Regions from separate parts of the Homo sapiens genome. Here all the other regions are linked to region 1. Evidence: promoter capture Hi-C in 16 types of primary human blood cells and fetal thymus (Javierre and others, 2016). All regions are on one chromosome and are shown on one strand. The core of a region is centred on a gene start or on the middle of the fragment in contact, and the rest is flanking DNA. Distances in the headings are between cores, read along the strand shown.

The links. The method cuts DNA at HindIII sites, captures the fragments that hold promoters and counts their contacts. A CHiCAGO score of 5 or more calls a contact.
Region 2: a contact is called between the fragment with the promoter of EFCAB11 here and the fragment with the promoter of BTBD7 in region 1, in 1 of 17 cell types (non-activated CD4 T cells). The highest score is 5.7, in non-activated CD4 T cells.
Region 3: the fragment with the promoter of NRDE2 here is called in contact with the fragment with the promoter of BTBD7 in region 1 in 3 of 17 cell types (fetal thymus, total CD4 T cells and naive CD8 T cells); the score reaches 10.6 in fetal thymus.

Annotation. Positions count from the first base shown.
Region 1 is chr14:93,330,571-93,335,501 of GRCh38, forward strand. BTBD7 (BTB domain containing 7) reads right to left here and starts at 2,466. Exons shown (of 11, transcript NM_001002860.4): 1 at 2,250-2,466. It also overlaps a transcript of UNC79 not described here. The HindIII fragment of the contact is 5,146 bases long and covers 1-3,523 here.
Region 2 is chr14:89,951,892-89,956,822 of GRCh38, forward strand. EFCAB11 (EF-hand calcium binding domain 11) reads right to left here and starts at 2,839. Exons shown (of 6, transcript NM_145231.4): 1 at 2,695-2,839; 2 at 2,015-2,110. The coding sequence starts at 2,769. TDP1 (tyrosyl-DNA phosphodiesterase 1) reads left to right here and starts at 4,036. Exons shown (of 17, transcript NM_018319.4): 1 at 4,036-4,079; 2 at 4,687-4,909. RefSeq lists an enhancer at 2,568-3,068 and a silencer at 4,134-4,363. The HindIII fragment of the contact is 3,728 bases long and covers 651-4,378 here.
Region 3 is chr14:90,329,298-90,334,228 of GRCh38, forward strand. It overlaps NRDE2 (NRDE-2, necessary for RNA interference, domain containing), which reads right to left and starts at 2,644. Exons shown (of 14, transcript NM_017970.4): 1 at 2,544-2,644. The coding sequence starts at 2,607. RefSeq lists an enhancer at 2,398-2,577 and a silencer at 2,728-2,877. The HindIII fragment of the contact is 5,093 bases long and covers 1-4,931 here.

The DNA.
Region 1 (4,931 bases), core at 1,216-3,715:
TTTCCAATAAGAACTTGAGGGAAAAGTCTATATGTTAATGGCAAAAACTGCAGTTACTTTTGCACCAACCTAATATTATGTTTCTTTCCTTTCTTCCACATCATTCATCTAATGCAAAACAAAAAGCAGACCTTCAACAGTCACCTATGTAATTTTGGATGTGTGAGCTTCCGTGACTAGAATCTGAAATCAGAATAACTTTGGCATTACTGCACTTCCGAAGGTTTACCTGAGACACACTATAAAAATGCTGTGACTCAAGATGATACCTGGAAACTAGGTAGTGTAACCTAGAAATCAACACAGGTGCTTTAAATCCTAAAATCAGAGTCTGATAGAAAAACCTTGTTTAAATGCTGGTGTTGGGACACAAAACAATACAGTAGTCAGGTTTTGTGGGACAGAATATTGACCTATGAGTTTTACTGAATTCATGCAAGAATGAGCCATGCTAAAACTGGGTGAAAATGTAGTCATGAGCCTAAGAAAACTCCAAACGAAATATCACTCCGTTTTTATTAAGTTCAGGTTAGGAAAAAAAAAAAATCTTCATCAGTTACTTGAAGTAGCTGTCAGAATGAGACAGAGGCTCTCATTTTCGCTTTCAACTTTATTACACCAAAACCCTATGGATAGGGGTAGGTAGTGAATGGTGAAGAATGCAATCAATGAAAAGTAAGCAGCTCAGCAGTGTAGTAACAATGAGCTCTCTAAATGGGGTAATGGGGTGTAGAGGCCTACATCTTAGTTTTGGTCTAATCCATCGCCAGCTGTAGGATCCACAACAAGTCACTCGCCTCTCTGGGTCTGGTTTCCCGGCTCTAAAACAATATTCACACCTTTAGATCTCTAAAAGTTTTTCTGACTCCAAAATTCCATGACAAGTCTAATAACAGTTGCTATTAACAACGTATGATTCTTGCAAAGCAATTTCAAGTCTTTCTTCCACATTTCAGGAAGAAAGCAATTCATTTCAGCAATCTAAAGGAAACAGATGCTATTAGGGACAAAAGATTGTTAGTTGACCAGACCGGGCGCGGTGGCTCACGCCTGCAATCCCAGTAGTTCGGAAGGACGAGGCGGGCGGATCACCAGAGGTCAGGAGCTCGAGACCAGTCTGGCCAACATGGTGAAACCACGTCTCTATTAAAAATACAAAAACTAGCCGGGCGTGGCAGCGGGCGCCTGTAATCCCAGCTACTTGGGAGGCTGAGACAGGAGAATCGCTTGAACCTGAGAGGCGGAGGTTGCAGTGAGTCGAGATCGCACCACTGTTCTCCAGCCTGGGTGACAGAGCGAGACTCCGTCTCCCCCCCCCCAAAAAGGTTGTTAGTTGAAAAAGCTAAGTAATTCTGTAAAAATGTCTACTTTCTCATTACAGTAAGATGTTTTCGCAGAGTTAACAGTGCTCTGGTGTAGATAACCAAGACTGCTTCTGTAAATTAGGCCTACTCCAGAGTACTTATTATCTGTGCTGGTATGTGAAGACGTGCAATTGTAGTTCACAGGAGAAACAACACTCCTCAGAGTTTCTTGAAAAACGGTGAGAAAGTTCTCACCCTCGGGGTAAAGCTAGCAAACACTGTGCAAATAAGGTACTGAAATATGCACACTTTTTGCCATTCAAGTAGTCCAACAAGCACAGCCTCCTCTTCTTTATCAAACACTCGGTATTGTCTCCCTCCCAACCTGTCAAAGCTCAATTCCAGGTTTATCCCGCAATAGTAACTTACCCGGACAATCTAACTTCCCCTGGGAGTAGCAGTCCTCAGGCCTGCTCCCTTCCCAGACCCCGCCGGCCACTCTCACGCCCACCCCTGGCGGTCGCAACCCCGCACCCGGGTAAACACGCGCCCCCGTCTCGGGAGCGGTTTCTCAGCGTCCTGGGAGCGACGGGTCCCGCCCCTCGGCGCCCGGAGCCCAAAGCCGGCCGGGCTGCCGTCGCGACTCCCTCGGGCCGCTCTCCCCGCCCCGAGCGCCACACCTCGCGCCCCTGCCCCAGGGACGGCGGCGCGCTCCAGCCCGCCCCTCGGAGCGCACAGAGACCGGCCAGTCCGGCGCCGCCGCGCCTCAGCCCCAGACGGACGACTGGCCCCTCCCCGCCCGGCGCCCCAGCGCCTCCCGCGGCGGCTTGGCCCCAGCCCCGGCGCCCCCACGCCTAAGAACAGCCCCTTCCTCTCCCGGACGCCCCGCGCCACACCGGACACAGCCTCGGCTCCACAGCCTCAGAGACACCAAGGGACACTCACCCCGGAGGCTCCTCCCGCCGCTGCTGCTGCCGCTGGGACCGCTGCCGTCGCCTCCGCCGCCGCCGCCACCAGCACCGCCGTCCGCACCGGCGCCAGCACCCCCGGCCATCCTCCTCCCACCGCCGCCGCCGCCGCCCTCTCCTCTCCTGTCAGTGGCTCAGGCTCCGGGACTGCTCCAGGTTCCCCTCGCCGCCATTTTGACTCCTAGACGGAGCAGGAGGGGCTCGGTTCGGCGTGGCCCTGGGGCGCCTGCGCGGCGCTGCGGAGCCGGCCGGAGCCCCCGCCCTCCCCTGCCGTCGTCCCGCTCAGGGTCACGTGGCCCGACGTCGCCGCGCGAGTCGGGCCGCGTGGGGGGGCGGTGCGTTCGCTGGATCCATGGGAGCGGAGTGCGCGCGCATTATTTTTGCTCGTCGGCTGGGAGCCGGGCGTCGGGTCGCTGGGAGTTTGCCTCTTGTGGCAGCATCCTGCTTAGTCCAGCGAATTGTGACACATTATTAAATGTATCAGAATATAAGAACTGTGTCACTACTACGTCACCAGATGGCCATTTCCACGAATTCATGTTTCCGTTCGGCGGCCGGCGTCCCTCGGGTGGTCGCATGCAATGAGTGCATCTTTCTCGAGAACAACTCTTCCGCGGAAAGTCATTGCTGACAGTCCTGGCATTCCGGTGGCTGCTTCTTGGCAGTGAGCACTTGTCTATCGTAAGCACTTGTCTGCATGGTACTTTTACAGGCACCACCTTGCTACTTGTGTAGTAGGTTAAAAAATAATCTTTAAGACACTGAAAAGTTTTCCTTAACAAGATACCCCTGTAAACAAAGGACAAAATTGATGAAAACACACAGTCGCCACGTGGGAGAGCCAAGTCGCTCTTCCCTAGATGCCCCTTGTTTGGGGGTTTGCAATAATTTCAGCGATGCAATAACAAAAATACTGTATTTATGGGGCACTGTCGTTTTCCAGAGAGATCCATGGTTTCATTTGAACGCCAAAGCCACCCTTTGTGGTAGTCAGGATAGGTGTTTTTATTGCTGTTTTACAACCAAGGAGACAGGCTCAGAAATACTAACAAGTAGGCAAGCCAAGATCAGAACCCAGGCATTCTGAACCCAGTGAGGAGGCACCGTTACACCTCCTTTTCCTCTGATAGACATTAGCAACTCTGGGAATTTATTTGAAAGTATTGTATTTGCATTTTCAATCTCTACCCATTGTTTAACAAGTTTTGTGTCACACAGTTTTTTGTTGTTGTTGTTCTGAAACCACCTCTAAGCTTCAAAGGATAAGAGCAATTTGGAATTTTGTGATGTGTTTTTAACCATCTCTTGACCCTCCATTATTTTATGCTTTTCATATTCAGTTGGAGACAATATCATTGTTGTTTTCCTCTGGACTTCCTTCAGATTTGTATTTTCCTCACCCTCATTCTTCATCACCTTACTTCCTTGAAAAGGATAGCTCTTTCCAATTTGTATTACTTCATTTTCTTTACCCATCTCACCCTTTTCACCCTCTTACCCAATCCTTGAAGGTTTGGAGATTGTAGCAGAGATTGTAGCAGTCCCTTGCCTGAAATTCCCCTCTAGCTGGTAAGGGTCACTTCAGTTGAACATACAGCCTCAGGGCGATAGACAAGAAATGCATGGAAAAGTGAGAAAATATAAAAGAAATAGGTCCATCTAATTGGAGCCAATGATTACCTCTGAGTGTCCACCTCTTGTTCCACACTTTTATACTTCCCCAAAGGCGTAAGTGAACCTTATCTAAATTCAAGCCATTTACTGTTATTTTCCATCATTTTACCTTTGTCTTAATTTGCTAAATACAGTTAACACTTGAACAACACGGGTTTGAACTGTGCGGATCGATCAATGCAACCTGGTACATGGGATTCTAAACACCGTATTGAGAGGGCCGACTTTTCTTATACTCACATTCCACAGGACGGACAGGCAGACTTGAGTATGCTTGGATTGGGGTATATGTGGTGGGTCCTGGAACCAATCCCACGTATATAGTATATGGGGGATGACTGTATTGCATTAACTGAAAGAGCTATGATTAGCAAACTAAAAAGCGGTGTGTAAACACTGCTTCTTTATAATTTATGGAAATGTTAAATAAGATCAGTCCCCACTGTTTACACTTATTACTAACCTTTATTACTTGACTTTGCTTCTATTTCCTAGCCACAATTTAAAAAACAAAATTAAAATGGTATCAACAACAATAGAATTCTAAGTAATTTCAGGATAACACTTTTTCTAACAGCCTTTGATGTGGAAATCTAAAACTTTTTGAAAAGCCAAGTAAGGTCTGCTGGTTGCACCTTGTCCTTTTGTCTATCTGCACAGCTGGAGACTTCTAGTAGACTGTTTGGATCTAGAAACCATTTGTAAGTGATCCATGATTTTTTTCTACCCTTTAATTCATTCACTGTTTCCTTATTATACCATTTAACTGTACTTTTGAGATCCTGAATTAGCTCAGTTTACACACTCATCAGAATTTAGATGTTTATTTTAGTTCAGTCCGATACACATTTAAAGTATCCAGTACCATGTGCCAAGCACGGTACTACATGCTGGGGGTAAAAAATAAATGGATCTTTGTACTTAAGGAGCTTAGAATCTAAATAAGAAGACAGAGTGAAAAACATTTTTTTAAGGCTAGTGTTAA
Region 2 (4,931 bases), core at 1,589-4,088, 3.4 Mb before region 1:
TCTAGCCTGGGTGACAGAGCAAGACTGCATCTCAACAAATAAATAAACTTAATTATGTAAAAAACTGCATGAATGTATAAGTGATTTATTATATAAGTATTTTATTGCTTCATGACCTGCAGTCAGTGAATATTTCATTTGCTCAAAAGCAATATTAAAAAATTAAACCCCAAACCTCAACCTAGTCTAAAAAAATCTGTTGAATTTCACAGAAATTAAGTGTCACCTGCATAATAAAAGTTCATTGTACAAATGACTAAGTTTATAGGTGACATGCTATTAGTAAATACCGTTTAGTGACCTGCGGTTACTAAATAGTTCATTTGCTTAAAAAATAAAATAGAAAACCTCACCTCAATATGAAAAGTAAAATCTGTTAAATTTCATGGAGTGTATGTACAGTATGTTACATCACTGTATCTGTCATTAAATTCCTCATTCTAAAATTGAAACCAAATAGACTCAAGGGTGATAAAGGCAAAAATGAGACAAGATACCTTTCCAGGTGAATCCAAGTTAAATACAATGCTTCACAGGCTGACTCTTTTCAGCTGACCTGCTTTGTAATTCCAACTGAAATGATTACAGGTAAACAGGAGAGCTGCCATTTCTAAGAGTCAGCCCTGACTACTTCTCTGAGCTCCATAATAAGCTTCTCAGTAACTAGGCAGCCCCTCATAGCTGAGCCACTCTGAACCCACCTGAGCTGTTCATGCAACCTACTTGGGTCAAGAGAATATATTAATACTTATTGTGCATCACAACTTCACAGTAAGTATGTTCTGTTGACACAAATAGGGCGGAGAGGCATGACATCACAGGGTCCCTGGCTTTGCTGGGCTTTCAATCTGACAGAAAGGCACAGTCCACTCATGAGGAGAACAGCTGGGCCCTAATTAACTGCCAAGCTGTCTGGTCTAATGAGAGTGAGGGATGGCATTCCAGGCTGAGCTCTGAGTGCTTCCTTTGCTTGATGGTGGCAGCTCAATTTCTTGAATCTGGACAATATCTTGACTCTGACTAATTCCAGCTTAACAAGAAGGGTGTTGTCTCTCGAATGAATGTAACAGGAAAGCAGAAAAGCATAAAGACAGGGGTGAGCAGGAAACTTGCCCTACTCAAGCAGGAGGTTCATGGAGGCTCAGCTCAACTCTCATTATTGGTGAATTGGTGCAATCTTTTCTGGAGAGCAAATATCTAACAAAATTTTAAACGTACATATTCCATGACCTAGCAGTTATACTTCTAGGAACTTATTCCACAGATATACAGCCACAAGGACATAAATGTGTGTATCATTGCAGCAATGTTGGCAGAAAAAAAAAAAAAACCCCACCTATATAACCCCAGACAGGAACCTGGCTAAAAAGAATATGCAACCATATTTTAAAATGCAGTAGTGGTGTGTGCTTTTAGGTTGATATATTGTTAAATGAGAAAAGCAAGTTAAAGTAGGCACAATATTTACCCATTTATGTTTTCAATAAAAGACTATGCATATGTATGTCATGGATAGAAAATTTCAGAATTACACAAAAAAACTGTTAATGGTAATCCCCTAGGAGTGGGACCCTCTGGTAGGCGGCGAGCGGATTTTATGCTCAACTTTATACCTTTCTGCACTGTTTTAATTTTTTGACCGTGGATGTATTTTATAAACAAAGCAACAAAAGTAAAACGAGAAAGAGACTATGTCATGTCCTATGTAAATTTCTCCTGTTACCAACACTCCCCTCTCAGTCTTCCCTCTTGGCACCTCTCTAGCATCTTGTATTTATAGTAGTTATTAGCAGCCTGGTGGTGAGATAGGCTTGTGTAGACTCCAGTGGAAAAGATTTCTACTTCATCTCTGGGCTGAGGTGTTAAGAGGAAGCTAAAATTCAGCACTGGACACATCTCTGAAATTGCTTATAAAGCAATTTATAAACATCCTAAGCTAGCCCTGTGAACTTTTCTTAGGATCCATTCACCTTTGATCGTCTACCCCATCCCCAAATATATAAGAAAGCTCTACCTTGGAGGGCTTGTACCCAAACAGCATTACAACAGCAGTTTTAAAGTCCTCTCTGCTGAGATATCCTTTGTGATCTTCATCACATGCTTTAAATACCTGAAGAACATTAAATAGCTTTAGTTAATGAGACAGAAATGGTTTATTTTTATTACTAGTTTATTATACAGTTTGGACCTCGAAAATCTAAAACTTGGCCCAGCGGTAGAGTATGAAAATAGAATTTCATTATCCCAATATTAATTCTCAAGAAATCTTAAAGATGGACTGAAATTTTCTTAAACATGGGCTGAAATTTCCCTCAAAGTGCAAACGAGTTAACCGCTAGGTGACGCAAATTAATTCATTTAGGCCACTGAGATAAATTCTACCCAAAATTCAGTCCTGGAGTTAGGAAGGTGAGGCAAAGGGGCTGGCTTTGAAAGGCGGGAGAGATGCAGACTCAAGGTTACCATTAATAGACTATATAGAGAGAAAGGAGATGGAACTTGGAGGTAGCCGTAGTCCTGGACGGGGAGCCAGGAGCCCTGCAGCTCCAGGATCAGTCATTAACCACGACCCTTTGGACAGGCAGCCCAGGTCTTATCTGCACACCCGGCAGAGTGAGACCCAGACACGGGAGAGGAAGCGAGAGGCCCAGGCCAAGCTGAAGTCCGAGGCTCAGTCGCCCTCCGGAAACCTACTTCCACCCACTTCCTGTGTTCCGAGGGACTGGCTTCCCACGTCCGCGACCTGGCTCTGGCCTCGGAGAAGAACATCGCGACTACAACAACCGAGCCCCAGCAACCCAACCAGCTACCACCGCTTTCCCAGCCTGGCTGGCAGCCTACCGCGGCCACGCCCACCGCGGCTCAGGAAGCCGAACTTCACCGCGCAACTCCGACGTCTCCTCCCATTGGACAACCTGCCAGCCACTCGCGTTAATCCCGCAGGGCTATTGGCCAGAGTCTTTGTTTAATTACGTTTCCTTGGAGCCGCCCTGGCAGTGAGGCGCCCAGGCCTGCCCCCAGCACTTGGCTCCACCCCCTGACTGTCCCTTAACTCGTTGAGCGCGGCTGGAAATCCAAGCGCTTCTAGGTGCTGGTTCAATGCCTGGTTCATGATTTATTTCATTCTCTCCCTCCATCTTGCAATAGGTTACTTTTAATCATTTAGATCTATGACACTATGCTAAACGTTATAGGAGACAAAAAGACTGTGAACAAACAAGAAGAACCAAACGAAAAGAGCCAAGTCCAGGATTCTCGTTCAGATCAGCAAGTCATTGGGATCGAGCTCCTAGGGCAGCTACTACATCTGTTATGTCCTCAAGATAATCCCAGCACCTAGCACTGTGCCTGGCACAAAGTAGATCTTCAATGAAAGAACGAAACGAGCCGTTATATTTACACAGATGTATTTCACTCAGTCCTCTGGAAGAGATGCCTAGTGTGAAAGAGATTCCAAGAATAAATACCATAAACAGCACCGAGCCCAAATCCCACAGCAAACATCCTTATTAAAGGCAAGGAACGTGGGGCGAGTTCCTTTTCTCAGAAGATTTTACGAGAACGCAACTGTTGCGAAGAAGGAACAGACATTCGAGGTTCTGAGTCCAATGGGAACTCATTTAACTTTTTATTTTGCAGCAGATTTCAAAGTCTGCACCCAGCCCCTCCCAGGACACAGGTCTCCTTGCAGCTGCCTTTAACCTAAGCGTATCCTCTCTCCACTTTAAACCAAACGCCGCTGCATGGAGCCCTGGGAGCCTGAGCCATGAGAATCCTGTAAAGAGGGTGAGTCTTGCTATTAGTTAACTAGAGCGAAGTTAGGGGACGCCTTTCTGGTTCTCCTCTCGTTTTAAGAAGTCTCCAGGAAGTAAGCCAAGAGCTAGGAGAGACCAGGTTTCCCCAGCCCCGTCCTGGGTAAACACCCGGCGGGCTTTAGGACCCAGCGGTGGGCTCTCCGGAAGGGGAAGGGGCCGGGCCTCGAGGCACAAGCCGCTGCCGCCAGGGTTTGAACTGCGCGCATGCGCGGCGGCCGCCGAAGGGGCGGGATCCGAGGCAAGCGTTGGTTCTGTGCGCCTCAGGTACGTGTTGGGCGGCAGTGGGCGCGGACTCGGTGCGGTCTCTCGCGGGCTGCGGTCGGGCCCGGGATCCTGCTCCTGGCCGAGTCGCGGTGCGCGGGCTGCTGGGGTCCGGCAGGGCTGGAGGCGGACCGCGAGGAAGCGGCGCGGCCGGGAAGATGGGGCAGGGTCGCCTCGGCCCCGGGGCCTCGGTTTCCTCCGATCACAGCGCCTCAGGGGGCGCGCACGGGCGCTGCGGAGACCTGTGTCCTGCCGGGGCGCGGCGCTAGGGGCCCCTGCTCGGGTTTTTATTCCCAGACCTAAGCTTACAGGTGCGTGGTCCCAGAAAGTGAGTAGGAAAGCGCCCACCACGTGCCAGGCGCTTAAGCTTTCTGTGCTCGGTTTCCCAGTATAGGAGGACGGTCACGGTACGTAGTATAGAGTTGTCCTGAGGGTGAAGCGAGTTTACACTTGGTGAGGCGCTTCGAATCGTGCCTGGCCGGCCCCAAATGAGCACGCAGTAAGGTTAGCAGCTGCTGCCGTCACTTCCTCACGTTCTGAATCTGCTCCGTCCCCAACGCCTTCAGCAAGAGCCCTCTCACTTCCTTTGTCTTCAACCCATTCTCCGCAGAGTTGGAGCACACAGCTGTATTAAAAAGGCAAATCGAAGGCCGGGCGCGGTGACTCACGCCTGTCATCCTAGCACTTTGGGAGGCCGAGGCGGCTGAATCACTTGAGGTTAGGAGTTTGAGATCAGCCCGGGCAACATGGTGAAACCCCGTCTCTACAAAAATAGAAAAATTAGCCGAGCGTGATGGTGGATGCCTGTAATCCTAGCTCCTCGGGAGGCTAAGGTAGGAGAATTGCTTGAACCTG
Region 3 (4,931 bases), core at 1,394-3,893, 3.0 Mb before region 1:
TAGATGATTTGCAGTTCTCACACTTTTCTTCTGCAGGACTTGAAGGCCCTGGTATACACTTCCCCCATTTTATTTGTCCAAATCCTACTCTCTTGAAGATCCATCCAAAACTTAGCTCCTGGCTAGGCACAGTGGCTCACGCCTGTAATTCCAGAACTTTGGGAGGCTGAGGCAGGAGGATCACTTGAGCCCAGCAGTCTGAGATCAGCCTGGGCAACATAGCAAGACCCTGTCCCTACTTAAGAAAAAAAAAAGTAGGCTGGGTACGTTGGCTCACACCTGTAATCCCAGCACTTTGGGAGGCCGAGGTGGGCGGATTATCTAAGCTCAGGAGTTCAAGACCAGCCTGGCCAACATGGTGAAACCCCATTTCTACTAAAAATACAAAAAATTAGCCAGGTGTGGTGGTGCATGCCTGTAATCCAAGCTACTCGGGAGACTGAGGCACAAGAATCACTTGAAGCCAGGAGGCGGAGGTTGCAGTGAGCTGAGATTGTGCCACTGCACTCCAGCCTGGGTGACAGAGTGAGACTGCCTCAAAAAAAAAAAAAAAAAAAGTAAAAGAAAAAAATATTAGTTCCTACATAAAGCCTTCTTTGAACCTTCTATTAGAAGTAATTATTCCTGGGCTGGGTGTGGTGGCTCACAACTGTAATCCCAGCACTTTGGGAGGCTATGGTGGGCGAATCACTTAAAGTTAGGAGTTCGAGACCAGCCTGGCCAAAACAGTGAAACCCCATCTCTACTAACAATACAAAAATTAGCCGGGCATGGTGGTGAGTGCCTGTAGTCCCAGCTACTCGGGAGGCTGAGGCAGGAGAATCACTTGAACCCAGGAGGCGAAGGCTGCAGTGAGCCAAGATCGTACAATTACACTCCAGCTTGGGCGACAGAGCAAGACTTGGTCTCAAAAAAAAAAATAAATAAATAAATAAATAAAAAGAAGTAATTAATCCTGCAGTTCACCTATGGTATCTGTAATATCCCACCTTGTACTATACACTTCTTTTAGGTGCACTCATGCATTCCTGCAACACGTAATTATTAAGTAACTACTATCGATCTGTACATCCAGAAAATATTTATTGAACACCTATTATACTTTGGACCTGTGCTAGGGGCTAACTATGCTACAATGAATAGACAAACACTGCCCAACCTGATAGAGATTACAGTCTAGTAAGGGAAGACAACAATTTTACACAAGAAATTACTCACAATTATGAGAAATAGGACAAGCGCAGTGGCTCATGCCTGTAATCCTAGAACTTTGGGAGGCTCAGATAGAGAATCGCTTGAGCTCAGGAGTTCGAGACCAGCCTGGTCAACACAGTGAGACCTCGTCTCTACTAAATATTAAAAAAAATTAGCCAGGCCTGGTGGTGCACACCAGTAGTTCCAGCTATTCATGAGGCTGAGGCAGGAAGTTAAGCCCAGGAGTCTGAGGCGGCAGTGAGTTATGACAGTGCCACTGTACTCCAGCCTGGGCAACAGAGTGAGACCCTGTCTCAAAAAAAAAAAAAAAAATTAGGAGAAACGTTACAGAAAGTGTAGGAACTATATTAGAGGATATAACAGACAGGTAAGACTCAATTGCGCCCTGTCACATATGGCACATAATTTAGAATTACTTTTTTTTCTTTTTTTTTTAGAGACAAGGTCCCCCCACCCCAGGGCAGGATGCAGCGGCACGATCATGGCTCACTGCGGCCTCAAACTTCTGGGCTCAAGCAATCCTCCTACCTCAGCCTCCTGAGGAGCTGATACTATAGGTGTGCACCACCACGCCTGGCTTTTTTTTTAAGAGACAGGAGTCTCGCTATGTTGATCATGATGGTCATGAACTCCCGGGCTCAAACTATCCTTCCACCTACAGGTGTGGGCCACTGCTCCTGGCCAGGATTAATTACTTCTTAAATGAACTATGTACCCCAATTTTGAACAATGCAGCTCTGCTGGAAATGTCTGGGACTTAAGTAAAATGTGTAAAGCCATAACCTGATACACACTAGGCCCTCAAGAATAAATGTTAGTTATTTTCACTGGGTGCTGTGCCCCTCCAGAGAGAAACTGATTAGGTTTTGGATACTAATCCCCTAGCTCTAGGCCGCTAAGTAATACCAATCTAATAAGCATTTCAGAAATAAGTATAACAGGAAAGGAAGTAATATGTAATAAAAACATTCTGCATTTGCATCAAGGGTTTCCTCGAGATGTCGAGTATCATTATTCCCAATTTAAAGATGAAGTAACTGAGGCTCGAAAAGAAGAACAGGACCTAACAACATCGTACAGAAGTCCCAGCTCCAGGGCATCTGCTGGTCTTTCTCCACCCCTCCATAACTCTACAACCTTGGTCCAGAACAGGCCTCTGGGCCCCAGACCTCGGAGGGATTGAGCCTTTCCCAGAAGGCTTTGCAGCGCCGCGGAGAACTCTGGGATACAAATGGATACACAAATCCAAAGCAAAAGTCTAGACCTGGGCCCGAGAAACAGCCTCTTAAGCCCCCCAGGTGCCTTCTTCGGCTCGTTTGTGTGCTTACCTTTCCTGGAGCTCCCGCCATCGGGAGCCTCACTAAGCCCCGCAAAGGCTGGGAACAGCGCCATGACCACAGGCCGTACCTCCGTTCTTCTCTATAGGGATGGCGCCGGCGAGCGAGCGCCGGTCTGAGGACCCCTGCCGTCGCGGTGCACTCTGGGAAATGTGGTTTTCGCGGCGCTCTCTGGGGCTTGACCCCGAAGCGGGAGGGGCGGGGCCCAGAGAGGAGGGTCGTCAAGGGACTGGGGCGCGGCGGGGCAGGGAGAGGCAGGGCAAAGCAGGGTGGGGCGGGGCCAAGGGGGGCGGAGCGAGGAGTGACGGGTTCCTAGTGGTTGGGACCCTGTGAGAACCGGAACTGCGAAAACCGGAGAAGGGAATTGTTGACCGCGAAAGGGACTAAGGAAATTGGGATTCCAGTTCGACCCCTAAATTCACACCATCCTTGCTAACTGGGTCAACTTAAACGCTCTAAGCATTACTTTCCTTATCTGCAAAATATTGAGAAGATTAAATGAACATATTTATAAAGGGCCTAGCATTGAGTCCGGCCCATGAAAAGCACTTAATATGTGTTAGCTATTATGTGAATTACGACTGCAAGTTCGGCTCAAAGTCATGTGAGATATCCGAACTTCAATCAGGTTACCATATTAAATACCCCAGAACAAGGAAAAATGGAAAGTCCCATCAAGTTCAAGGGTCTTTGATAGTTAGGAAATACCTGTCTGTGAAGCATTCTTGACCCCGGTTCCTCCCACCCAAAATCTAATCACACTTGCTACCAGAAATATAGAGAGTAAAGGAACAACTTAGAAGACTTTGTACTACCAAGAAACAATTAGCCAAATCTAGAATATGGGAAATTATAGAAAACAACCGTGCTTCCTTAACATATCAAGGGCTTTAAGAGGGCAGGAGATTGTAATAGATACGAAGATCTTACAGACACATCAAGCAAATACAACATATTTGTGGCCTCATTATAATTCTGATTGGACAAACTGTAAAAAGACCTTTTTAAGATAGATGGAGAAATAAGAAGGTAGGCAGAGTACAAGCAATTCACAAGTAATTCTTGTGAATTCTGTTAGATGTACTAAAGTACTTATGTCACTGAGGTGACCCTTATTTATTTATTTTGAGACAAGGTCTCCTTCTGCCACCCAGGCTGGAGTGTAGTGGTACGATCTCTGCTCACTGCAGCTTCGAACTCCTCGATTCAAGCAATCCCCTCACCTCAGCCTCCCAAGTGGCTGGAACCACAGGCATACACCACCATGTCTGGCTTAATTTTTTTTTTTTTAATAGAGACAGGGTTTCACCATGTTGCCCAGGCTGGTCTCGAACTCCTGGGCTCAAGCGATCTGCCCCCCTCTGCCTCCCAAAGTGCTGGGTGCCTGTGCCTGAGCACCCCCCAACCCAGCCTGAGATTACTTTTTAAAGTTCTTATATATTAGAGATATATACTGAAATATTTGCAAGTGAAAATAGATAGGTAAATGAAGATATATTTATTGGGATCCTAGGGAGTTAAAGATCTTTAGTTAGGAAATACATTATAAACCAGAGATGCAAATGTAATCATCTAATCAAGGAATGGATGGACTCTGATGAAGTCTGCAGACCTGCATAAGAATTAGGTTCTATGAGTCCAAAATAGACACCCTTAATGCTTTGAAGTCCCTGGCAGAGTACTTACAAAAAGGAGCTTAGTATGACAATAGGGGCAGTAATTCCTGTATGTCTTCAACTTTAAATCTCAGGTTCTGCCAAAATCTTTGACTCTAAGTTACCTCAATTAATTGGGGCAGCATTTGTCTTTCTTAGCAGATCACTTCAGGTAACTGGGATGGAAATAGTCTATCCCAATGCCTCCTATCTTTCCACCCCAGAAAAGTAAGAATTAATATGGAAGTTTTAAGAAATTAAAACCATAATAATAATGTTTCTGTAATACAAAGGAATCTGGGTATACTAGGTATATTGTGTACTTACAAATGTATAAGAGAATGTTGCTCAAGAGACCCTCCTCATAAGAACAACTGAAAGTGTATAATCAAGTAACTGATACAGACTCCTGGTTTTAAGTTAAAATCTTTTTGTGTTTGTTTTGTTTTTGAGACAAGATCTCCTCTCTCGCCCAGGCTGGAGTGCAGTGGTGCGATCATGGCTCACTCCAGTCTCGACCATCTGCCTCAGCACCCCGAAGTGCTGGGATTATAGGTGTGAGCCACCATGGCCGGCAGTAAATTGAAATCTTAATGAGGTTTAAGCAGTTTCAGGATATCCAAGAGAATCTAAAGCTCGCCATATTTGTAAGTGTAATTGGTTAGCTTTATAAGAATAATGGGGTCCTATTGCAGGAGCATGAGGGAGGCTGAAGATTCCATTT